Linked DNA regions of Homo sapiens: region 1 is linked to region 2. The links are contacts of gene promoters, found by promoter capture Hi-C in blood cells and fetal thymus (Javierre and others, 2016). All regions are on one chromosome and are shown on one strand. Each heading gives the region's core, a stretch centred on a gene start or on the middle of the fragment in contact. The rest is flanking DNA. Distances are from core to core; before and after follow the strand shown.

Region 1 (6,210 bases), core at 3,711-6,210, 1.6 Mb after region 2:
TCTCAGCCAGGATGGGGAACGACTGACTACAAATTAAGCTGTACACATGTTAGACTGAAAGAGTTTACAGGTAAATGTGGCCCAAGGCCACTGCCACGTCATTCGTTGGCCGGAACACTTGCAGTGGTAAAGTGAGACGGAGAAGCTATTTAATTCTTTGCAAGAGGAGATCTTTATACACTTTGGTGTGAAAGTAAAGAGGGAAAACTGGGCGTCCTATGCATGGCTGAGGACGGGAAGCCTGCCTACACCAGTGGTTCTCAACCCTAGCGCACTTCAGGAACTTCCTGGAGTTTAGAAAGAAGAAAAAAGAATACAGGTGCTCAAGACTCGCTCAAGACCAATTACTCATGTTAAACAAGATTTATGGGAGGCCATTGTTTTGGACTAACCTCCTGCACTAGGTCCTAGCAGACTAGACCAAACCAGAATGGAGTCACTTGTGCCAAGTGCCATGTAACCAAACTGAACTTTGAAACAGGCCCGTTTTCCCAAAAAACAGGAGATTGTAGTTAACCTGAGTCAGTACAATAACGAAGTCCAATCTGTTTTAACCCTATAAGGAAAGTAACTTTGAAATACCCACTCTTTGTTTTGTTCTTCAGCCTTTTTTTGCCCATAAAGCCAACCTCCTCTGCACAACTCATTGGAACACTCTATTTGCTTTATGAAATGATCTATTTCTCGATTCTAGATCCTAAATATAAGCCAATTAGATCTTTAAACTAAACTTGTAATTTTGTCTTCTGACACTCCCTATTACTGCAGGTGAAACCCAGGCATCAGAGCAAGTTTAAAACTCCCCAGCTGATTCTATTCTGCAGGAATGTTTGAGAACAAAGTTGGAGTCATTAACATGGCATCCCCCTTTGAGGAATGCTTCCAGGTCACAAACCTTCTACAAAAGGGCTGTCCCGGCAGCCTTGGGCAATTTCAGCTCCTAGGTCCGGAGTCAAGGGGCAGAACTTGGGTGATGGCGCTGACTTGAAGCAGCAATAGTTTAATAACTGACGTTCTCACGCACTTATCTCTGCAAATACCCCACAAAAGCCCTGAACCCAGAATGAAACTTAAGAGACCGTACAACCCGCTCCGCCTATAGGAACTGCCGCGGCACAGGCGCCAATGCCGAGGGCTGAATGCGCAGGCGCGGACCGGGGACTCGGGAGAAGGCGCATGCGTGGTCTTGAGGGCGGTGCTTCCGGTCAAAGCACCGCTTGGGGGCGGGGCCTGCGACACGCGGTGGGCGGGTCCTGAGTCGCGACCCTGGTCCGGACCTGACCTGAATTGCGACCCCAACCTGGACTGCTCCCCTGACCGCAACCCCTACCCCCGCCCACCAGTATGGCCCGGCACGTGTTCCTAACGGGGCCCCCAGGTAACCCTGAGGGGATCCCCACCTCCAAGAGGTCGAGGGGGTGGGGGCGCGCGGGCTGCGGGCGACCTTGTGCTGTCGGGGAGGGTCTCCGGCTCCAGGGCTCCGGCCTCTGAAGTTCCCAATTTAAATGGCGGGCTTGGTAGTCTGAAGAGTTTGTACTCCTTCCCGGAAAACGTGATTTAAAAGACACAGGGCCTAAAGGATTAGAACACACTTGTGAGGGGGTCCTAGACTGGCTTCTTGATGAAGGGCAGAAACCGCAGGGGCCAGCGGCAGCGGTAACTCCTACTGTAGTGTTGACGTTGTGGTCTGCACAAATGGTATTTCAAGAGATCTGCGGCAACCGCGATGTGAAGTGGAGATGTCTAATTTCTGTTGATAGTCACAGGTATTTCCTTACTGTGGGTCTTTGCTACATTGATCGTGCAAAAAAAAAATGGTAAATTTTAGTTGGAGGACAGCGAAACTGAAGTTGTAACCTTTCTTTCCCATCTAAGTTCATCCCCCCACCCCCATCCCCATCTCCATCCCCACGAATTCCCTCCACAGCTGAGGCCAGAGGTGGAGAAGCTTTGGTACCTACAGGAGCCCTTCTCAGACACTCTTGCTTGTTCCTGTCGCTGTCCCCTCCTGATGTCTGTCAGATCCCTCAACCCTGTGGCCTGTGGAGTTCTCATCTGAGAAGCAGGATAGCGTTGAGGTCAGATGAGAGGTGTAGGAGGAGGTGCTTTTAAACCAAGGCGCTACCCATGTATCAAGCATTACTAAAAAGGACAGGTAGGCTGCATCAGATAGGCTAAAAAAAGATAGATGGGCTAAGAGTGGAGAAAGTGATTTCTTCAGCTCCTTTGCAAGGCAAATCTAATTTTGAAGTTTAGTGTGGGTTCAGATATCAAAGGCTGTAACCCTGGATCTAGAATTCTCTTTCACTTTATTTTAATGATTATGTTTAGTTGTAAGTAGCAAAGGCTACAGCTAATATTGCAGACTTTGGGATTTTGTCAGGCATTGGATGGGGGAGTTGGGGAGCAGGGGGTGAGGAGGAGGAGGGTGGTTTGAGAAATGCCTGCTATCTAAAGTCACTCCTAAGTATTGCAAAGAACTGTTTTCTGAAAGTTGGTTTGTCAATCCTTTATTTGAAACTTGGAATGCAGTTTGATACTCAGCAGGCTGACCCCAAGACAACTGTGTGTTTTATTAATGGAGGTGTCCTGTTACCGTGATTGTATTGATGGTGGTTCTTGTTTCTGCTTTATCAAAGTCTTACCTACACGTAGTTGAAAGACTCAAATAATTCTACAGTGTAGCTCTCTTAAACCTGTCCTCAAACCCACGCACCTTTGTCTTTTCTCCTTCTCTTCTTAATGTAGTTACAGCGTAATTTTCATTAGTCAATGTTTACAGTATTATGGCCATGTAAAGACAATCACAACAGAGCCACATAGTAATCTATGATTTCTTTTCCATTTATTTATTTATTTTAGAGACAGGATCTTGCTTTGTCACCCAGGCTGGAGTGCAGTGAAACAGTTATAGCTCACTGCATTCTCAAACTCCTGGGCTTAAGTGATCCTCCCACTTCAACCTCCTGAATAGCTGGATCTACAAGCGCATGCCACCACACCCGGGTATTTTTTTTTTTTTGTAGAGACCTGTCTCTTGTTATGTTGCCCAGGCTGATCTCCAACTCCTAGCCTCAAGTGATCCTCCCATCTGGGCCTCCCAAAATACTGGGATTATAAGTGTGAGCCACCTTACCCATCTTTTTTTTCCCTCTTCTTATTGAGACAGGGCCTCTCTCTGTTGCCCAGGTTGGAGTGCAGTGGCACAATCTTGGCTCACTGCAACCTCCACCTTCCAGGCTCAAACCATCTTCCCACCTCAGCCTCCCTAGTAGCTAGTACTACAGGCATGCACCACCATGCCCTCTAATTTTTTTTTTTTCCTTTTACACATAACTTTTTTCCCCATTAGGAGTTATTGTCAGGTGTTTTTATTTGCCTAGTTTCTTTCTGTTTTCTCAATATGTTCAGACCATCAGGTAAAGTCTCCTCTCAAAGAGGTCACTTTTTGTTGCATATCCTCTTAGTGCCCCTGGCACTTAGCATTTTTTCCGATTTCCAACTGTCTGTACCCATGACTCATCTTGGAGGGCTTTCTCTGGTCCCTGGAGCCCACTTGGCCTGCAAACAGAGCAGGCCAGAAGAGCCAGGGAATTCCTGTGCCCTGGGATTAGCCTTCAACCTGTGATTGGTGAAAGTTAGTTGATAAATTCCCTACTTTCTCACTCCTCAGACAGGATAACTGAGCCACTTGCCCTGACTTGTCCCTTAGGATTCCCCAGGGGGTTGAAGCTCCAGCTGCCCCCAGTGGAACTTGCTTGACAGTGCACCTCATGCTGGTGTCCTTCCCTTCCCTTTCTGAATTTCTTCCCTGCCAGTCCATCATGTTGTCACTGCCCAGGTTAAACTACCTGCACTTGAATCTTTATCTGAGGATCTGCTTAGGGGAGAACCAGAACCAAAATAATTCCAGAGCTTTCTGATCTGTTTGTGCCTGGTATACAGCTATCATCTCGAGGTCTCCTGAAGCAGAGGTCATTTCTTATCCAGACAGCATTGGGGTAGCAGCTTAACTAATGAAGAAAAAATTAACTGAAAGAAGATTCCTAGAGCTGAAGAAGCCAAAAGGGACTTTGCCCAAATGCTTCCTATTTATTGCTCTACTATGTTCTACACAACATACAGTCCCCACAGTATACCCTTTGTGAACAGGAATAGTTACCGTTGCTCCATTTTATCTTTTTCAAAATATAAACGGCAATTTTTGTTAGGATAAGAGTAAGACCCATTCAGTATAAGAATTAAAAAAAACAAGAAAAGTTTAAGGAAGAAAGTGACAATCACAGGGAATTTGAACATCAGAAATCAACATTGTAAATCTTTGTTCTGTATTCTTCTTGACATTTTTTTTTTCTGTAGACACGTACTTGACCATTCTTTAAAAAAAACATAATGGAATGGTTTCTGCTATTAACCTGCTTTTTCCATATATTATTTTCATACATTGTGGTCTATTTTCCATGCTAATAAATACATATAAGCAGTATATTTTTTAATGGTTGCATGGTATTTCTGTGTATTTATGTGCTATTATATACATGGTGCCATGAGTTAACATTCCCTTACAATCAACATTTAGGTTGTTTTCAGTGTTTTGCTATTATAAAGAATGTTGCAGTGAATGTCCTCTTTCACACATTTGTATTGTTGATGTTTCCTGAGGATGAATTCCTAGTCATGAACTACAGGGTGCTGTGGCAGGCGCATTGAAATTGCCCTTCAGAAAAGAAGTAGCAGCTTACACATTCGGCAATGCCATTACTTGCATGAAACAGATTCTTTAGTGACTTTCCTAAAGCAGTTGTTACTGATGGCCAGGGCTGGATTAGAATGTCATCATTTTATGTTCTACACAGTTCTACCAGCTGCATGCTCACTGTGGCTTACTGTAGCCAGAATCCTGTTGTGTTGCTGTTCATGTTCCAGAAAGCCAGGTGCCATTATTTTAATGTGAAGTGTGAAGATAGATACATTAAATAAGAATAATGGATCATATTTTATGTCAAGGAGGCTTAAAAGAGTGGGTAGTCTTAGAAATAGCATGATTTGCAACTCTGTAGTATCTCAAAATAGCTCACTTGCAGACATGCTAGGAGTTTTCTCTCTCTTTCCATTGTTGGGTAGTCATGATGCCACTTACTTAAATCCATATTGGGAACAAGGCTCATATTTTAAAAAGTCATGGTGACAGGTAAAGTCCCCTGTTGAAAGGTATGGACCTTATGAGGGGTATAGCCTTGGGTAAAATACCTAACCACCATGTACCTCAGTTTCTCCATCTGTAAAATATGCATAAGGATGGTAATTGCCTCAGAGGATGGTTGTGAGGACTTAACCAAGAAAATGCTTCCAAAGTGTGCTAGAACAGTGTCTGGCTCCATGACGTCAGTGATGAGTATTACTATATTAGGTAGCACCTGTTGGTGCTTACAAACCAGTGAGTTCATCAGAGTAGTCAGCTGACCAGGCTGGATGGACAGGAAGGATCAAGGTGGGGAGGCTGAGGGGGCAGAGGTACATAGGTTCAAACTGGGGAAGGTGTGGGGGATAAAGGTGAAGAAATGCTTAGAGACCCTGGAGAAGATGATGTTGGAAGGAGTTGCTAACCTGATAGGCTTGCTGTTATGAAAAAGTTTGAAAGTGACCATTAACAGGGATGCTAATGATATTTAAGAGACACATTTTCAGGAGTTACAACAATGTAAGTCAAAGGAGGAACAAAGTGATTTTCCCACTGTTAAGTGTAGGTCCGTTTGTAATCTCTTGAAAGCTGAAATCTTAAATTCCCAGCCCCTGACTCAAGTGTGACCAGTGTTACTTCCTGGGCAGAAAAATGGGAACTGTAAACCATTTCACAGGATGCAAATGGCATGGGAGAATATCATCAGGAACCTCTCAGTTGATTCTGGGATTGTGTACGTGACAAAATTAACAATGTTTCACAATTTAAAAATAAACCTCAAGATATCATTCGTGTTTTTATTATGCTTGTTTCTACTTGAAATTAAGCATTTTTAGCACCTGGAGCAATCAAAATTAAATTGAAGTTCATATTCATAAATCCATTTACAGCCCATTTCTCTACCCACCATAATTGCTGCCTCAGAGTCCACAAGTGCTGTGTGTGCTCTAGTAAGGGAATGTTTCCTAATGGGCTTTTCTTCTTTTTTTTTTTTTTTTTTTATTTTAGGAGTTGGAAAAACAACATTG
Region 2 (6,504 bases), core at 3,813-6,312:
AACATTTCAGATTCCCTCATATCACAGCACATCAATAAGCAGTATGTACATAGACTGACTTTTATAGTACATGTCATGTCCCAAATTCCCAATCCTAGGTAAGATATCAAGTTACAAAATACAAGTGCCGATAATTAAACTATAGGTAGTATATTAAACAAAAATGAGTTTTTAGCAATTATGTGAAATAAGGCTTTAACCAAAGCAAGACTTAATGCCACAAGGTGTCTTTTTTCCCCAAGAGTAATTAATTCAATCAAGCCCATGATTCCAAGCTCAAGTAACAAGTTTTATATTCTTGAAGCAAACAAGAAAAGGCAATCAATGCTTAAGTGGTATATTTTAGTATATATTACATTTCTGGACAATCTCTCATTGCATTCAATTTTTAGAACTTGTCTTGGGTCTAATAAAACAGAAGAATTAGAGAAGAAAGCCCATGCCACTTTGAGGAATGTAACATAATTGTTTTGTCTGGGTACAAAGGTACGTTACAACACTGGGGGTCTTTAGTCAAGTTCCCATACTAATTGACTCACCAAAGCATACTTCCTTCAGCTACAACTGTAATTGGAACACACAGATTTTACCTGAAGAAAATCCTGTACTTCCAGTTTTAAAAAGCAGACAATTCTATGAAGAAGCAACCATTTAAATATCTAACTATACACATTCAAGTTTTTACAACTTCATGCCTTATGAGGAATTTTGATTTCAGAAGTATCATTCCACAGACTCAGCATCATATATTTATACATATTTCATACAGTATAGTATTAGAAACTGTAAATGGCACAGAATAATCATAATTATCACAAAATTTTATCAATTTCCAGTGATCTTAAAAAGACAAATTATAACCGCCTTTGCTCAGCTAAGATATCCAGTTATGGTTACAACTTTCGAAAATCCTAAAGTTATGTGAAAAAAATTAGTCAAAGAAAATCTGTAAATCTGATACTTTCCAATATTTTAAATATGCACAGCTAAAGAGAAAATAAAGGGGTTGATCTGGCACATGAATAATTAAGTCAATGAATTTTACAACCCTGAGCCACTTTGGCAACTACTTTAGGTTTCACATAATTTTCACAGTCTTAGTACCACCATTTTCATTCAGATAAAAGAAATGACCTTTTGAAATCATGGGCATCAAATTTGGTGCTTATGGACAAGAATCACAACTAGAAGCTAGAGACAAAATGGATCACAGCAAGCACAGTTTCCCTCAAAGAATAAGGAACGCTATAGAATATACAACAGCGATAGTTTAGAAACCTTGGGAAGCTCACATTTCTTTAGTTATTTTGTTTTACTAAACAATTTGAAGTAAGCATTATATTCATGTTTAAAAACAAAGCAAGGAAAAATAAAAAATGAAACAAAAATGCAGCATGGAACATTTTAGGAGTCACAGAAGGTTCTCTTCTTCCCTTTGTTTTGGGCACATTGTCTCACCTGTTTTCACTTTGTTACAAAAGGAAACAAAACCAAATCTCTGCTCAGAGTGGTCATAGTGAGAACACTGAGATTTGCATATGTTTTTCTACTTTCCCATCCATCTAGACCCTGAAATCTAAATAAATATTTCAGTTAAAACTTTTTTTCCATTTGCATGAAGTCTGGGTCACTATATCTCCTACCCTGAATGGGGGAAGATGGGACAGCTATATCTCATACTGAAGCGGTGGCAGCTAAAACCTGGCAACTGCTGCCAGTGTCCCCAATGTGTCTTGCTTATTATTTTTTAAAATGTGACAAAGACAAAAGCTACAGCTGGAAACTCACACAATTTAGAAATATGTTGAAAACTTTTATTATAGTCCTTAGGATTTCCAAGTAAATGCTCCCAAATCAAGTATTACAAAGCTGCTAATTAATTAGCAACTGAAAATTAGCCATTCAAATTATATTGGAAATATTTGCTGAATTGTTTTTATGAAAGCTTCCTCTTGGATTCTGTAAGGATCAGAGTATCTGAATCCACAAACCAGCTAGTTTCAAGAAAGAATTCTTTTGACTAAAACTTACCTTAAAACCAATTTTCCCAACTCTTTTCCTTTTCCCAAATAGTCCAACGTTTTGAGGAGAAATATATGAGGCAGGTTGTTTTATACGGCACTGTACCCTTTAGGAAACCTAACATTTCAGTGAACTGGGAAACTTCACAACATAAACTCTATGTATTTATAGATATTATGACTGCTGTATAATATATACTGTGGGGAAAAAAAAAAAGAAGAAAGAAAAGACTAGCCTGGGCAACATGGCGAAACCCCATCTCTACAAAAAATACAAAAATTAGCTGGGTATGGTGGTGCCTGCCTGTGGTTCCTGCTACATGGGAGGCTGAGGTGGGAGGACTACCTGGGCCCGGGAGGTCAAGGCTGCAGTGAGTCGAGACTTTGCCACTGCACTCCAGCCTGTGCGACGGGGTGAGACCCTGTCTCAAAAAAAAAAAAGAAAAAAGAAAAGTTTTATCAAAGGATAAAACCGAAATGCTATAGTATATAGTGTGACCATAATTTCAGAAGAAGAGAATTAGCATAATTTAAAAGGATAGCTAGCATACTATACGTTTTAATAATTCCAGTATTTTTGTTACTTGGGCTTAATTTAACTTATTTTCCTCTTTTTGATTTTTGTATTTTTAAGAGGGCACTTTTAATTTTCAAGTTGTGTTTGAAACTATAGAGTATGCTAATACAACTTAATATAAATATAAATAATATATAAGCTCTCTCTCTGCATATATACACATATAAACAGACCCAAGCATTAGACCACTGATGTTGTACTTTCAGGATTCACACGAATAAGTCTAGATGCATTCCTCAGATCTTGGAGTTGCTTGGCAGGTTTCCCCACACCTTCTTCAAACCTTTTCTCCACCACAGGGAGGACTGTTTCATATAAAAAGGATGCATTCTGTCTGATAAAAGCTTTCTTCTCTGGATCCTGCTCACATCGAAGACTATAATCCACATGCTGAACAGCAACCAAAATGATTTCCACCAGGCTCTCCAAAAGTACCATGTGCAGCTCTGGGAAATACAGCTTCAGGGCCTCTTCCAAGAAGCCCATGGTCTGTTTGGTGAAAGCAACCACTGTGTAACTTAGGTTCACCCAGCAGTCATCCCCTGTGTACTGCTCAAAGTTACTTACCCCACAACTTTTCATCTCTTCTTTGAGCTTACCCAGGGCTTCTGGCGTCATCAAGTTCATCCTCCTCCACATCTCTTCAGAGTTGCGATGTTTAGTGGCTTCAATGATGATTTCTTTGTAACTGTGCAAGGCCCCTTGGATGTCTTTCACCAGAAGGGCATGGATGATGAAGGTGAGATCCAGTCCGATATCACCCAGTTGCTGGCAATGCTCCTTAGCCACTTTTACACACTCAGCTGCTGTAGAGAGGCTCTCCTTACTATCAAACACCTGCTTGCTAAAAGCATCCACGAACATGCCCATGGCTGATCTTGCCCAGACCACAAAGGCAGAGTAGCAGCCGCTGTCAGTGCCTGCAAAATCGATCTCAAATTCTCTTGCAGTCTCGAGAAGGCTGGTAAAGAAGACATGGCACAGCTTATGAATATAGAGTAAAGTGGCACCTTCGATGCGAAGCTGACGAATTGCAGTATGAACAGCGGCTGCCCTGTTTCTCAAAAATAGCTCACAGGCCTTCGTGCACTGGCCCAGCCGGATCAGTTGCGAAACTGCTCTGCGAGTAGCCTTCGGACCACCTCTCAGGGAACGATCTGGGGAGAGTTCGAAAACTAGCACCTCAGTGAGCTGTCGAACTCGCTCCTCCACTTTGGCCCTTAGTTCTTTTACAGGAGGTGGGCTAGGTTTATCTTCCAGGTAATGGTTCAATTTATCCAGCAGGTCAACCGCCCCTTCAAAGTCTCTCTGCGCAATGCAGACATCCAGGTCTTCAGGTAACTCCTGGATCCATTCCATGGAGAGGTCCACCTTCTCTTCCTCTACCTCAGGAACAGCTGGTTCTTCTTCTTCGTCATCCTCAAATGGGTTAGTGGCCTTGGAAGTCACTTGGGGTGGCCCTCGAGGGGCCGCTGCCTCCTCCTGCTCCCTTCGCCTTTTCTCACTGAGGGCCCTCTTGGTGTCCTCCAGCACTTCCAGCCACTCTCGTTTGATTTTAGCATTTTCGGCCTGGAAAATACGGCTCTCGGGGAACATAAGCAGCTTGAACATGTCCTTCATGGGCGGGTTGTCCTTGACATTGACTACGGCCAAACCATCTAGGGAATAGAGAGCGTTGTAGCGATACATCCCACGCCGCTGAGGCAGCCAGGTAGCCACCAACAAGCAATCGTTCATGAGAAAGCCGTGCACCCGCTGCAGTTGGGCCATGTGGTCCGCATCGTATTCCACTAGGTCCCCATTGTACACCAAGTACTGTCCCGGCGTCTCCAGCAGATGCCTGCAGCCTTCCACCTTCTCAAGCAGGGTGGTGAGAGTGCGCTGCTTTCCTTCCTCGCCTGGACCGGAGCCGTCGCGGGAGGCACCCCCGGGGGTGGAGAAAAAGCCGGCCTGGCCTCGGAGGTGGTCTCGGCCCCCCGCCCCACCGACTCCCTCCTCCCCTCCAGAGGCGGCGGCGGCTCCGGCGGCAGCAGCGGCAGGCAGCAACGTAAGCGGGATGCTCTCCAGGCTGCTTTTCTGCTCGGTCAGCAAATGGCTGAGCTGGTACATCTCGCTCTCCAGGTAGGAGATCTCGCGGGCCGTCTCTATGAACTGCCGGTAGTTCTGGTAGACGTTGCGCTTCAGGTTCTGCGCCGTCTCCTCCGCCAGCGCCTGGATGCGCTGCCGGTGCTCCTGGAGGTCCCGGTCCCCATCCGACTGCTGCGAGAGCTGCTTCACGTACAGCCGCGCCTCAAAACCCCCTGACTCCAGCTGCCGACGCAGGCGGCTCGCCCCACTGTCCGACATCGCCATCGCCATTTCTCTCCGGGTCTCACGCACTCACTGTCACTATCGGCGCCGCAGCCGCCGCGGCTGTCTAGACCCACCCAAGGCCAACCGAGCTCCTGGGCTGAGGAAGCAGGAATGGGAACGAGACGAGTACGCCTGCGCCGGGTCTGAGCGTCAGACACTGCGCCTGCGCAAGTGGGCCGAGCGCAGACATTGCGCCTGCGCAGCAATGCCATCGGTTAAAGCGCATGCGCAAGATGAGCTATTGCGGAAGTGAGGGGAGGGAGAGGCCGAGAGAAATTTCGGTACTGCGCATGAACCGAGCGTGACGTTGAGGTTTGAAATAACCGGCAAAGAGTAAAGGCTGAAACTAGCTTCCTGAAAGCTTCGTAGGGCCCGAGCCCTGTGAGCCCAGGTTCTGCGCCCACTAGGAGGTGTCATGCTGACTGCTTTTTTTAAAGCCCTAGAATCTTGGCTTCGGCGTTTGGGGTAAGCTCCGTTCTCGTTCTCAAGCGCGTTTCCGCGAACTCTCGCGGGATTGACGGGCCGTCTCGAGAGCCGGCATCTCCTAGGAGCTAGTCCTGGTCCTCGGCTAGGCGGCTTGGGGTCGCGGCGTAACTGGGGAGCCAGCCTGACGCCGGCGGACCCCGCCTGTGATCCTGGCAACGATGGATGATGACTTGATGTTGGCACTGCGGCTTCAGGAGGAGTGGAACTTGCAGGAGGCGGAGCGCGATCATGCCCAGGAGTCCCTGTCGCTAGTGGACGCGTCGTGGGAGTTGGTGGACCCCACACCGGACTTGCAGGCACTGTTTGTTCAGTTTAACGACCAATTCTTCTGGGGCCAGCTGGAGGCCGTCGAGGTGAAGTGGAGCGTGCGAATGACCCTGTGAGTTCCGAGCCCCGCTGGGGAAAGAGGCGGGACTGGCAGCTTTCCTGCAGCCCCCGGCCCTGGTTTTCTCTCCTTTCTCTAGTCCGACGGTCCCAGGGGGCGTTAAATGAGGGGAGTCTGGTTTTGGACCTGGCAATTCCTGCCTCGGCGTGTTTCTGTCTTCCTTACCTTTTCTCCCACTCGAACAATAAGAAAGCTGTGTAGACCACACCGCCACGGTTGGACTCAGGGCCGTAACAAAAAAGAGATTTTTATTTGAATCTCACTTCACTTGAAAATAACAAGTTCCTGATTTGCCTTATGATAGTGCTGTAGGACCCAGAAGGGAGAAGCAACCAAATCTGCACCTAAGAAAGTGCTGAGGACGCAGAGTAACTGCCAAAGGATGTGTGTTCTCCTCCTCTATTCCCGTTAGGAAACCCACTTTAGTTAGCTCGTGTGTTGCATTGGGGATCTTCAGTGATGCTTTTAAAACGATTCTTTTTCTACACGCTAAATTTCAGAAATCCCTATTTGAAATAATAATCTACTCCTGCACGTGAACAGGGTTAAGTTTAAGATACAGTTGTATCCCAGCATGCTTGTTTTTGAGTTGATAGAAAACAACCTACTGTCAAACAAATTAAGATATGATATTAAATTGTGTTTAAAGTACCAATTTCCTTTATACAGGCGTCTGTTATGAT

What was found. The method cuts DNA at HindIII sites, captures the fragments that hold promoters and counts their contacts. A CHiCAGO score of 5 or more calls a contact.
Region 1: a fragment that was not itself captured here is called in contact with the fragment with the promoter of EXOC8 in region 2 in 1 of 17 cell types (fetal thymus); the score reaches 6.0 in fetal thymus.

What each region holds. Positions count from the first base shown.
Region 1 is chr1:232,949,367-232,955,576 of GRCh38, forward strand. It overlaps NTPCR (nucleoside-triphosphatase, cancer-related), which reads left to right and starts at 1,245. Exons shown (of 5, transcript NM_032324.3): 1 at 1,245-1,378; 2 at 6,191-6,210. The coding sequence starts at 1,345. It overlaps LOC107985361 (a long non-coding RNA gene), which reads right to left and starts at 2,183. Exons shown (of 2, transcript XR_001738525.2): 1 at 1,962-2,183; 2 at 1-1,790. RefSeq lists enhancers at 967-1,066, 979-1,520, 1,521-2,060, 3,189-3,688, 3,624-3,833. The HindIII fragment of the contact is 6,029 bases long and covers 1,947-6,210 here.
Region 2 is chr1:231,332,790-231,339,293 of GRCh38, forward strand. EXOC8 (exocyst complex component 8) reads right to left here and starts at 5,063. Exons shown (of 1, transcript NM_175876.5): 1 at 1-5,063. The coding sequence starts at 4,956. The coding sequence ends at 2,779. It overlaps SPRTN (SprT-like N-terminal domain), which reads left to right and starts at 5,504. Exons shown (of 5, transcript NM_032018.7): 1 at 5,504-5,815. The coding sequence starts at 5,595. RefSeq lists enhancers at 4,365-5,240, 4,788-4,837, 4,878-4,937, 5,241-6,115, 5,518-5,717 and 1 more and a silencer at 4,498-4,667. The HindIII fragment of the contact is 2,369 bases long and covers 2,941-5,309 here.